Linked DNA regions of Homo sapiens: all the other regions are linked to region 3. The links are contacts of gene promoters, found by promoter capture Hi-C in blood cells and fetal thymus (Javierre and others, 2016). All regions are on one chromosome and are shown on one strand. Each heading gives the region's core, a stretch centred on a gene start or on the middle of the fragment in contact. The rest is flanking DNA. Distances are from core to core; before and after follow the strand shown.

Region 1 (4,270 bases), core at 693-3,192, 220 kb after region 3:
AGTTGGTTTTGTTCCCTAACTGGTCCCCCACATATCTAAGTGCAATGAGTACATTCCCAACTCCTACTGCCAAGTTAAAATGAAAACGTTCTCAGTCTAGAAATGATTGAGGTGGTTTTCTTTAATCAAATTAGAGCAGCCAAATGTTCCTTTCAAAGGTAACTGTCTACTCTGCAGCTGTATGCAAACTACCACATCAAATGTGAGGGAAAAAATAGCGATAGAATTGTGTCCTTACAGTACAGAGCTAGCTGCAGAGATGGAGAAACAAAAGCATTTGTACAGTTAAGAATTACATTCACAGTGAGCTTCCAGAAATATGCTGACTTCACAAACTGTGAACAATGTATTGAAACTTCCAGTACATAATTAGCTATTTTGGGGAGGGGAGGAACATGGGGGGAAATGCCCCCTTAAAAACGGCTAAGCAGCAATAGATACCTTGAGTCATTTACCCTCCCAACCAAAGTTTCTCAATGAGAAACATTAAAAGACTGGCTGAGACTTCATAGGAAAAAAAAGTCTCATAGACCTTGCTTTTTCACTTCCTGTCTCCATCAAAAACACACCACAGTGAGTAAACTTGAGTATCCCGCAAGCTTCAATTAAGCTTGTAATGATTCATTTGCATGCAGAATTTATTCTTTTAAATAATCAGACATGGGAATTTCCTGCAAAGAATTAATTCATAGTGGGCTTATTTTTTCAGTTTGTTTCCCTTAAGAAAAATCAATTGGCTAACATTCCCAATATGATGTCAAATTAGCTTTTCTATGTTACAATTTATATCAGCTGTTGGTTTCAGGGATGGTATATCAACAGTATGAAAACCTAGAAGATGACAATGAATTTATATAGCCAGGTGCAATCAGCAACAGAAGAATGAAACAATGTTCTTTCTTCAATTATGGATCCTCTCCAGATGGTTATACTGTCCTCTAAATTAAGGAATGTGGAATAAATAGGGGAAAAGTATATCTCATGTGATCCCAATATTTCTCCAGAGCAGCTGTTCTTAAACTTTTTTGCTTCTGGTGAAATTAGCAGACAACTTCCTTGGTTCACATGCCCTTTGACATTACCCAAATTTAAGAACTGCTGCATAACAAAAACTTCCCGCAGGTAATAAGCAATTCTTGGGCTGCAGCCCTTCTGCTCCCAACCAGGAAAGCAAACTGAATTGCAAAAAAAAAAAAAAAAAAAAGACATTTTGATTATTCAAAAATTTATTTTAAGAAGTGTAATCAGACTTCCAGTTCAAAATGGTGGACCTATCACAAATATTTGCCTCCATTCTTTCTCAGTAAAAGAAATAAACCCATAATTACAAAAGGGCGTCCCACATACACAAAAAGGAGAGAATTTAGTAAATTTGCTGGGTGACTGAAAATAAACAGAAATAAGGTGATGGAAGAAGTCACCAAAGAGATAGTAGTCTCCAAAGTGAAGAACATATAATCAGGAGATGTATTAAGAAAATATCTTCTATTTTTAGGTATTTTGTACCCCTTCATTTCAAAATCATTATTTTTATTAAATATATAATAATATATCTGTATATGTACATAATTTTTATAATTCAGTGAATATCAGTGACATGCTCAAATATTTTTACTAGAAGGGAGGCCACTGCCCTAGAACAAGCCATGAGGGCACCGTGGAGGAAGCAGAAGCTGGACTACGAGTCAACAGGTGCAATGGAAAAAGGGAGGAAGAAGGGCAGCCATTTTCTTCCCACATTCAGGGGAGTCAACTAAATGTCTGTATATAGGGTAACTGCACCAGTTAGCATTCCTATTGCCATCCCTGTACCTAAGATCTTGGAGTAAACCATTTCTTATTGTGACATTTGAGAGTTTTTCCACATCCTGACAGCCATTTTTCCAGCCACCCAAAAGTAAAGCCTGTGAAGCATACTCCCATCCCAAGATTCCTATGCCAAACAAGTCTCCCAAAAATTTTACTCAGAAATGAGAGCCAGCAGGGAGGAAAAGATCCTATTTAATAGTCTTACTAGCTAACCAGTCTTTATAAAAACTAATGGACATACAAGGCAGTAAGGGAGCAAGAAGGTCCAGACTTCTTACCTGCCAGAAACAACTAGAAACTAGATAAACATATGAAACAACTGCTTTCAGATATTGGACTATAGGTAGTAGAGGACTGTGATCCCTGAGAGAGGGGAAGCAAATGAGGTGAGCCCTAGATTGCCCTAGCTTTCTGTTTGGAGGCAATTTCCAGACCACAGGTACAGGAAGGAGGAACCTCAGAGTTCTGTAAATTCTGTAGTCTTGCCCAGCTGGGTAGGCAGAGATCAGAGTTGAGAAGACAAGGAGGCCAAAGTGGCTAAAATTTGGAAGACACAATACTGAAGAAGAGCTCCAGAAATCTACATGGGGTCTATTGAGTCCCTGGCTGAATATTAAGCTACACATGTGGAACTGCATGAAGTCAAGAAAGGTCAGCTTCTGAGAAAAGATCACCAAGGAGTTGTAAGATGAATGATTCCAGAGCTCACAGAGGGCAGAAAATGTTTCAAACTCCTTACCAGCCAAAGAAGAGAGACTACAAAAGAGTAATGTCTTAGTAGGGCTAAACTAGCCTGGAAGCAAAGCCTACATACACTAGATCCTCTCCCCAACAACAAAAGAGACAAACTAAAAATAAGCCTTGGAAGTATAAAACTGAACCACACATAACTTTACTGCCTGCCAGAACAAAATCCAATTCTCTTTAAAGGAGTAGAACAAAATCCAGCAGTTGACAATGTCATAGTCACAATGTTTGGCATCCAATAACACATTATTAGACATGCAGCCATACAGAACATGACCCATAAGCAGGAGAAAAATCAGTCAATAGAAATAGACTCAGAAATGACAGAACTTATGGAATAGCAGACAAAGAAATTAAATAAACTATTATAAACACTACAAAAATGCCCAAGGCCTTAAAGGAAAACATGGACACAGTGAGGAGAAAATTGGAAATATATAAATAAAAAATCAAATGGAACAAGTACCAAGATAAGCTATATGTTGGACCAAAGCAAGTGTTACTATCTTTAAAAAGTATTAGAATCATACAGAATTGTTCTCTGATCACAACAGAATTAGACAGAAAGAAATTAGAAAAATCCCTTACATGTTTGGAAATTTAAGAATCCATGGATTAAAGAATATATAACTAAAAATGGCTTAAAATAACCCAAATTGAATGAAAATTAAGCCACAACATATTCAAATTTGTGGGAAGATGCATATATTTGAAGATCCAAGCTTCTATTTTAAGAAGCTAAAACTAAGAACAAATTAAACCCAATGTAAGTAGGAAAAGAAGATAAAAACAAAATAAGTATCAAGAGACCACAGACAAACAGAAGTGAAAATTAATGAAACAAAAAACTGGATTATCATCAATAAAACTGACAAAACTCTATCTGTATGTCAAGATAAAAAGAGGAAAATGCAAATTACCAATATCAGGAATAAAAGAGTGGACATCACTACATATTCTACAGACATTAAAAAAGATAAGGAGTTAAAGAATCTATACCAATAAACTACCACCCCCCCAAAAAAACCCTAGGATAGACAAATCCCTTGAAAAATACAAAATTATAAAAGGTGATCTAACCTATAAGGTCTCATATCTATTAAGAAAATATAATTTGTAGTTAATAACCTACTCAAAAATAAATGCTAGGCCCAGATGACTTCATTAGTAAATTCTGTTAAATGTTTAAGAAAGAAAGAATGCCAATCCTACACAAAATCTTTCAGAAAATAGAAGAGGAAGAAACACTTCTCAACTCGTTTTATGAAGCCAGCATTACCTCAGAACAAAAATCAGAGTTATTATAAAAAAAATTATAGGCCAATATCATTCATGAATATTCTTAACAAAATTTTAGCAATATATAAAAAGGCTACATCATGACCAAGTAGGGTTTATCCCAGGAATGTGAGCTTGGTTTAACTTTCAAAATTCAATCAGTATAATTCACAGCACAATAACAGAGTTTTTAAAAAAATAATCAATTCAATTCTTCAGAAAAAACACTGACAAAATTCAGTACCCAATCATGAAAAACTCTCTAAGCAAACTAGGAATATAAGGGAACTTCATCAATCTGATAAAGGACACCTAGGAAAACTTACAGCTAACATCATACTTTAGGGCAAAAGTCTGAATAGTTTTCTCCTTATTATTGGGAACAAGCCAAAAACATCTGCTCTCACCACTTTTATTTGACATTTTTCTAGAGGTT
Region 2 (4,397 bases), core at 1,014-3,513, 180 kb after region 3:
TTTCTAAAGAGATTCTAACTTATCTGTTATTAGCTGAATCTAAGTGTCATTTGCCTATTTAGTGAGTCATTATTTATTTAGTGAGTCAGTCTTACAGTACCTTTAGAAAGAAACTAGCTTTTCTTAAACCCATATTTCCTATCCCCCTACCACCACTATCAACCCCCTGTACCCCACCAAAGGTTCCCTTGGCTCTGCATAGCTCTGCCCCAGCTTCCTTTTAGTCCCTGGCTTTAGGCTGTCTCCAACCTAAGTCCCAAGATTCTTTCATTTTTAGTTCTGCTGCTCTTTTACATTAATGTAGCTTTTTATAGGATTGGAGATTTTAAAAAACCTACTAAATAGCTGTTATATTTTTTGTTAGGATACATACACATGCATAATTCTGTCCTCTTTCTCTTCTGATATTTTCAGCTACTATAAGGGTTAGGAATTTGCAAAAGGATTTATTTCTGAGAGTCTTCAGAATCTAGACTGCATAAAAATGTTCTCCTTTAAGAAGTTGCTTGAGTTACTGAGTTTTCCCTTGGAATGAAAGATACTTGAAAGCACAATATGTATGTTCCTGATTGGAGCAGAGGGAAACAAATGGAAATTATTAGTAAGATTACACTGAAATCTTACTAATTAGAAAGGTTACACTGAAGATTTTATTTCTCTCTACACTTTAGATCTGGGCTTCTGACTTTAGTAGTATAAACTCCCACAGTTGTTAGAGCTCACTCACTCTACATTTCCCCCTGAATTTGGAATATACTCAGTATTGACTCACTATTCTTCCATCCTTCAAATCATCTCTCCTATTCCACTCAGTGGTCAGCTGCTGGCACTGCTTTGATTTATCCCCCTGTCTACTCTCAGGCTGGCTGCTTAATTTTTGCTTAGCAGTATAGTCTTTAAAAAAAAACCCCAAATTTCAAAACTCTCAGTATGTGTGGGGGCAGAGGGGTGCAGAGTGGGGAGGGGCAGTAAAGTTGTGGTTTCTGTGGAGAAAATATTTCTTTGGAGTCAAAAGACTATATTAAAAGCTCGTCTTCCACAGAATATAGGTCACATTCCTGGTAAAAGTTTGGATGCCTGTTTTTTAAAAAAAACAGAATGTCTCTAAACACCATAGTTAATATACTATAAGTGATATACTTTGAATAAGGCATAATAAGGGTCTACAATGTGCATAAATCAACTAGGTAAAACATTATAATAACCAATACTGTAAAAAGCTACATTAATGGAGAAGGGCAGAAGAACTAAAAATGAAAGAATCTTGGGACTCAGGTTGGAGAGAGCCTAAGGCCAGGGTAAGCTGGGGCAGAGTTCTGGAGAGACAAGGGATGCTGAAGGTGGGAGGCTGATAGCGGTGGTGGGAGTTTGTAGAGGGGTAAACAGTGAAAACAAAGGATATAGAAAACACAGGGTCTTGAGTGCCAAAAAGAAAATAAACTGGGAAACCACGTTCGCAAGTTAAAAGCCTTGAAAGATCTACTATACTGTGAGGAGTGAACTATTTTAAGTCAAATTGCTGTAGGTTAAGGCCCATCTTACAGTAAAAGATGGCATCACTGATCTATGAGGTCTTTTAAACCAGAACTATGTTATTCCAACATTCGACTTTGCTTCTTTAAAGAGACTTTATTGAACAGTCCTCTCAGGTGTCTTTCACAAATGTACTTTCTTTTTAAAATTATTTCCTGTTACTATGAAAAGTAGTTTGCATCAAATACCAGGAGAGATGTGTGTGTGTTTTTAAAAACATGGTCTATTCAATTAGTGCAGCTATGATATTAGATTGAAAAAAATTTCCTTCCAAGATCTTTATCATTATGGTAGAGTATTTGTTCTTTGAATTTCTTGCCTTGTTTTTGGGATCACCTTATTATGCAACATCTGCTCTGAATTTCAAATGTGATAAACAGAGTATGAGTGTCGGTGGCAGATGGCTAATGACCAGCAGCGACAGGGCATTCAAGCCTGCCTTGTTTTCTGGGAAGCGATATTTTCATGTTAATTTGCTCTGTGTCCTGCAAAGATGAGACAAATCACCTGCTCGTAATTCAGGCAAAATGGAGACCACCAGGAGCTGAGAGGGGCCATGGCTTGATTCCTTTAGGAGTGAGAAGAGAAGAAGATCTGAGAGGCTTTCCTCATCTGCAGTACAGGGACCAGTCAGTCACTTTGCATTATGTCAAACTGAGAAAGATGAATCAGCCCTGGGCATCCCATACTGACATCAGAGCCACTGTTTACTGCAAGCAGATATTATTCATGAAAACAGACATTTCCCAGAGGCAAAAAACAGGTGCTATTAACAGTGTGTGTCAGTTTCTGAAGTCTGGGTTTTGTAAAATAAACCTAATAGTGTGTTTTATCTCTTACTAAAAATATTACAACCAATAGAAAACTCTAAGAAACATTCAATTGAAGATAAAATGAAATCTAATTCACAGAGAAAACGACCCACACAGACATGAACCTGGAGCTTTTCTGGCCCTCTCAAGCTCTATAGAATTCATTTATCATAAAGATACATAAATAAAAAAAATTTTATTCCAAGATTGAATCATCAAAAGAGGCCATATGGTCTTGAGCTCAAAGAACCCTGTCCTATTTTAGAGGCTGCTGTTCTTTTGTGTGACCTTTCAGTGCCTCAAACTTGTGAAACTATATTGACAATTGCATCAAACATTTTTTTTTATCAAACATGTTTCATGCACAGAATGTCCACAGAATAATTTTAGGTTTTCAAAGAGTTTATAAAATAGTTGAGAAGCCAGGTCATATCCTAGGAAAGATTAATGTATTATACAGACAAGACTAAATACCAAATGAATGATTTAGTAAAAGAGGGCATTACATTTGGAAAAGCCTGTACAGGAGAATATTTTACATAAGAGTCTCTCTCCATCTGTATCTTGCAGTGTACAGTTCTTATTCTGGGTGGCAGTTACAAATTACTAAGAAAAATGGTGAGCAAATTTCTTTACAGTTCTTTCTGACCCTCTCTCATAGGATGGCAGATGAAAGCATGAAAGAGAAAAATAAAAATCTGAGAGCTGTTTTTTTTTCTCATAAAGCTCCATAAATGGAAGGTGCTATATAAGCATAGATACTCTGAATTTATCACGTACTCTAAAAGAAAAAATAACACAATCATTAAGGTGTCAATTATTGCCTCATAAATCTCAGCATGGAAACCCAGGAAGGCAATATTAAATCTCAAATGAGCCAATAAAAATTTAATAAAGATGGCACTGAACTCCTCCACAAGTAAACAGACCCAAAGATAATATCCTGAATTAGAAAGAGGAAAGCCAGATATGTCAACAATAAGTCTATGAGGGAAAATTAGAATATCTGTTGACTTCACAGGACAGCAGCCAACAGGCTGCTTTATGCAAATGTCATTGTCAACCAAGAATGGATGCACCTAAAGGACATCAAGAAAAGAGGTTAAATAATGTGATGAAAACCCCAAGATGAAGTATGAATGTGATTTCTATGTATGCTTTTTTTTTTTTTTTTTTTTTTTAGAATAAGGTATATTTAATGATGTTGGAAAGAATCACCTATGATTTTATTTTATTCTCATGAACTTCTCAATGAAAATTTTCAGTTCAGGCCTATACTCTTAATGTACTTTATTAAAGTCCCACATGAGCACCGTGCAATAATTAGAGTTTCCCCAATAAGTTTACCCAACTATCAACCTTTATTAGTACTTATGGCTTATGGTGTGGTTTAATGTCTTTTTTATTTTTCGAAAACAAATGGCACTTAAGTGCACTTCAAAAACTGTTAGGTGATATAAGTAAGCTAGAAAAGTAAGATCATCATGGGCTCTTTTCTAACAAACGTGTTGATGAAATGATAAGCAAAATGATGTTACCCCTATGATATCTAGTAAGACACCATGGAGCATCCTAGTTTTATCCAAGTACTGCCCAACTAATGCAATTTATGTCCTGAATGTGCATTAGAATATCCTGAGTTTCAGTGGCCTGTTAACTGGTAAACAGTGCCACAGAAAACACAACACTGGGTAGAGGAAAGTGGGTAGAGGAAAATCCCCTGAGCTTAAATGATCTTAGATGAGGTCTTGTTTTGATTTTCTATTTTATATATATTTCATGTTAAAATATCTGGCCAGGCATGGTAGCTCATGCCTGTAATCCCAGCACTTTGGGAGGCCAAGAGGTGGGCGGATCTCGAGGTCAGTAGTTCGAGACCAGCCTGACTAACATGGTGAAACCCAGTCTCTACTAAAAATACAAAATTAGCCATGCGTGGTGGCCCGTGCCTGTAATCCCAGCTACTCAGGAGGCTGAGGCAGGAGAATCGCTTGAACCTGGGAGGTGGAGGTTGCAGTGAGTTGAGATCGCGCCACTGCACTCCAGCCTGGT
Region 3 (4,330 bases), core at 368-2,867:
TCTCAACAGATGCGGTTGTTTAAAACTGTGTAGCAACTCTCCCCGTCCCTCTCTTGGTCCCGCTCCTGCCATGTAAGACGCCTGCTCCTGCTTTGCCTTCCACCATGAGTAACAGCTCCCTGAGGCCTCCCCAGAAGCAGATGCCGCTAAGCTTCCTGTACAGCCCATAGAACCGTGAGCCAATTAAACACTTTTCTTTATAAATTACCCAGCCTCAGGTTTTTCTTTATAAAAGCCATGCAAGAACTGGCTACTACAGATGGCAAGTGTCATCATTTCGTAAATGTTAAGTCTCCTTTGGTGTGAGACACACACAGCTTGCAAATAATTGTTGAATAAAAAAGCGAGTTCAAGAAACGTAGCACATTCGTTTTACGTGCATTTTCCTCATTTTGCTACTCAGTGGCTAAAACTTTGTCACAGGCAAGCCCAGAAATTGTCAGGCTGCAACCTAAGCTTATTGTTATTTCATTATGTTTACTACTCATTCAATCTGATTCATAACCTGAGTTTTTCAGCCCCCTCCCCGCCCCAGCGGTCTAGAATACTTTCCTCCCATCTCCGCTTCTCAAAAGCACCTTTTCTTTTGAATGCCTTTAGAATCTCTAACAACTATCAAGGACCATTTCCTACTCTTTCTGCTGTAAGTTATTTATGCATCTCTTTTATCTCATTCACTAGAGTAATAATTTTCATGCCCAGTACTCGCTCACACATCTTGCCTTTTGTGATTTCAATTAATCTGTAAGGTTGTAGATAATAATGATCCCCTTTTATAAACGACGGCACAGAGAAGAAAAGTAACTTGTTCTAGGTCACCCAACTTCCGACGGAACAAAACTGACATTCCAGTTTTGTGTTGGACTCGAAAGCCAACTATTTTCACGCCATTCATTCCCTCACAGTGTCTATGGGGGCCAGGTCCTACAGGGCGCTGGAGACACGAAAGCAAATGCTGCCATCCCATTTTCAAACGGGAGCCTGCTTGTCGCTAAAACCAGGCGCGCTGCTGGCTCTCCGGCACAGGGACCGCGTCGAGGCCTCTGTGCCTCCCTCCCACTTGGGTGCGCAGGAGAGGGGTGCGGACCTGGGGCGGCCGATACCAAGGGGCGGGTGAGTCGGATGCGTCCAAGGGCCTAAGTCTTCGGAGTTACATGGCGGGGCCAGGTGTGGGGGGGGTTCCCCGAGCCCTCGCGGTTCTAAGTGGGCACTGGGGGCCCGCGTACAGCAGGCAAGAGTGCAAACCAGCAGCGCCAGAAAGAGCGACGAGGTGAGGGAAGAAAAAAGGGGCGGGCAAGAGAGAGCTGGGAACCCTAAAGCGCCAACTGCGTGCGCGGCGCACGCGCATCTGGGATCGGCGGAGGGTGCTGGGTCTCCAGGCCCCACGTCTGAGGGCTGCCGCTTGCCCTCCGGCCCGGCCGGGAACAGCGAGGGTTCTCGCTGTCCTGCCGCCGGGCCCTGCGTCGCCCCACTGTTTTCCCGGCTGAGTACTCACCACCCGATTGTCCCGCTTCCCCATGGTGCTGGATCGAGCGCACAGTAGCACGCCGAGGGAAACCGGGCCGGAGAGACTGCCGAAGAGGGCCTGCCGCAGGTCCTCTTGCCGCCTCCCCACTCCGCCTAGAGAGCGGCACCACGCGGACTCGACGGCCGCGCTCTGCTACAGCGCCCCCTATCTCTGTGGAGGACAGGCCGGCTCCAGAGATCGCTGCAGTTGGCGGAGCGCCTGCAGGAGTCCGGTCGTTCATTAGGCACCCAAGAGCAGGCGACGCTGCGCTTCTGCACCGGAGCCCCACCAAGGCAGCTCGCTTCAGTTTGGCCTTGGATTGTTTTGCTTTCTTCCATTCTTTTTTTTTTTTTTTTTTTTTTTTTTTTTTTTAGACAGACTCTCGCTCCGTCGCCCAGGCTGGAGTGCAGTGGCACGATCTAGGCTCACTGCAGCCTCCACCTCCCGGGTTCAAGCGATTTTCCTGCCTCAGCATCCCGAGTAGCTGAGATTACAGGCGGCCGTCAACACGCCGGGCTAAATTTTTTGTATTTTTAGTAGAGACAGGGTTTTACCACGTTGGCCAGGCTGGTCTATAACTCCTGACCTCAAGTGATCCGCCCGCCTCGACCCAAAGTGCTGGGATTACAGGCATGAGCCACTGCGCTTGGCCTTTCTTCCATTCTTGATACACTGAAATACTCATTCGAGGGGACACAAAGATTCTCCCGATGCTTATTTTGTGCTTGACAGAGTGCAAGTGCTGGGGACAAAGTGAGGACCAAAGAGCCTTGGTCCCTCACGGAGCCCATCAGCTGGTGGGGGGAAAGGCAGTGCTGTCATAGACGCTGCTAACGAAATCACCCTTTAATTTCAATCCCATTCATTCATCACCTGTGCATTCATTTCACACTAATTTTTGAACATGTAGTTTGTACAGTTTTCACTAACTGGGTGGCTGGAAGCTGGAGCTGGGTAGGGCACAAAGATGATTAAGAAAAATCCCTATCGTCAAGGAGCCTGTTTATAAACTCGTAAGGGCAATAAACACACACAGGGCCAACTTTACTGCATAGCATATCGTAATATTGGCACTACTGCACTGCAACTTTAAGGAAGATGATCTGGGCTCCAGAGAAGATAATCATATTTAGTAAGTATTTATAGATAAAGCGACCCCTCTGGGTTCATCTTAGCAAGTATCATTAGGAAGTAGTTGAAAATCAATTAGGATCTTCTCCGGACTCTTGGAAATGGCAAAATGGGAATTACACTAATTACATACAAGAACATGCTTTAAAATCATCTTTCCCGATCTCTGCCTCCCTCCCTCCCTGCATTTTTCATGCTACACTATATGACAGATGCTCCCAACTACCATCTTCTGTCTCAAAACTTTTCCAAACTCTCACATGCAGTCCTTGGTGGTTCTGCTCCCTACTAAGTGTTGATTCTTCCTCAGTAACCCACTTTCCAAAATGAGGCCTCCAGTCTCTCATTTCTCCTCCTCCTCCATTACCCCCGACTTAAGCTGGGGACTCTGACTGAAGACAGGCTTCTTTTTATACACAAGAGGAAGAGGAGAACCTATTAATATTAAGTTATTCTTTCTTTCCTGGCTTATTTTTCATGTTTTAAATATTCTAGGCATTTGACAGATATTATTTTTAATACTCCAACATGATAAGCATGATAATACCTGTGAGAGAATATAGTTTTTTTTTTCCCTCTTCAGCTCCTTCTTACCTTTCACTTCCTTGGTTGGCTGATTGTACAGAACACAGAGATTTTTAAAAATATGGTATAAGTCAACAGAAAGGTTGTGTTTCCTTTAGAAGTCTCTCTCTCTCTGCGAGTGTACACAACCCCTCCTGGATGAAACGTGAATCCCTGGGGGGACAGAGAAACAAGAAAATGACCAGGGGCCTGTGAAGATAAGGAAGATGGCAAGAGCTATCGGGAGCTCATCTGAGTGGACTACATAAAGAACAAATCAGTCCAAGACTTCTCAGGATATAATTCAGTGACAGTAGAAATCTTTACACATTCTCTGCACATGTGTGATCTGCTAATAAATACATTTCTGTCCTAGCAGTGGGCCTACATGCCCTCCCGAATGTTCTAGGCATAACCAGGAGATTACATTCCATTTTGTGGATGAGAAAAACCGAGGCGAAGGGAAGCCGAGTAATTTGTGCCAGCTTCCACAGCAAGAAAGCAGAGAAGCTGGGGATTCAAACACAGGTGTGTCAAACATGAAAGCATTTACAAGATGCAGTCTCTATTAAATACACACATAGACACACAGGCACGCGTAGACACACACACACACACACACACACACACCCACCCACACCATGAAAGCATATGCTTTCCTTACAAAATCACACTGCCTTTGGGAGGGGAGAGAAGAGAGGGAGGATTGAGAAGTGGCATTTCAGGTGGATTGTGACCCTGGGCCAGCTTCCCTCAGAGGAACTGAGAGGGAAGGACATTACAGAGGGAATAGCCCGCGTAAAAGGAGTGGTGATGTGGTCAGGTTTGGCAGCATAGAACACTTATGATAGAAGGGAACAAGGCTGGAAAGGTACACTGGGCCTGGAGGCAAAGGACCTCGAATGCCAAAGGAAGAAGTTATATTTTATTCTGCAGGCAGAGCCTTTTTTTTTTTTTTTTTTTTTGAGATAGAGTTTTGCTCTGTTGCCCAGGCTGGAGTACAGTGGTGAGATCTCGGCTCACTGCAACCTCTGCCTCCTGGGTTCAAGCGATTCTCCTGCCTCAGCCTCCCAAATAGCTGGGATTACAGGCATGCACCACCACACCCAGCTAATTTTTGTATTTTTA

Evidence for each region. Contacts are between HindIII fragments. The CHiCAGO score rates a contact against its expected background, and 5 or more counts as called.
Region 1: a fragment that was not itself captured here is called in contact with the fragment with the promoter of FAM133B in region 3 in 3 of 17 cell types (neutrophils, fetal thymus and total CD8 T cells); the score reaches 5.7 in neutrophils.
Region 2: a fragment that was not itself captured here is called in contact with the fragment with the promoter of FAM133B in region 3 in 1 of 17 cell types (neutrophils); the score reaches 5.1 in neutrophils.

The regions. Positions count from the first base shown.
Region 1 is chr7:92,813,372-92,817,641 of GRCh38, forward strand. All of the region lies in intron 2 of CDK6 (cyclin dependent kinase 6), which reads right to left. Among named protein-coding and RNA genes, the nearest start is that of CDK6-AS1, 21 kb to the right of the region's middle. The HindIII fragment of the contact is 2,668 bases long and covers 609-3,276 here.
Region 2 is chr7:92,766,817-92,771,213 of GRCh38, forward strand. The region is part of intron 3 of CDK6 (cyclin dependent kinase 6); the gene reads right to left. Among named protein-coding and RNA genes, the nearest start is that of CDK6-AS1, 67 kb to the right of the region's middle. RefSeq lists an enhancer at 1,725-2,264. The HindIII fragment of the contact is 8,013 bases long and covers 1-4,397 here.
Region 3 is chr7:92,588,773-92,593,102 of GRCh38, forward strand. FAM133B (family with sequence similarity 133 member B) reads right to left here and starts at 1,618. Exons shown (of 11, transcript NM_152789.4): 1 at 1,496-1,618. The coding sequence starts at 1,519. LOC105375397 (a long non-coding RNA gene) reads right to left here. Exons shown (of 3, transcript XR_927744.3): 3 at 3,248-3,376. RefSeq lists enhancers at 1,346-1,405, 1,496-1,775. The HindIII fragment of the contact is 8,062 bases long and covers 455-4,330 here.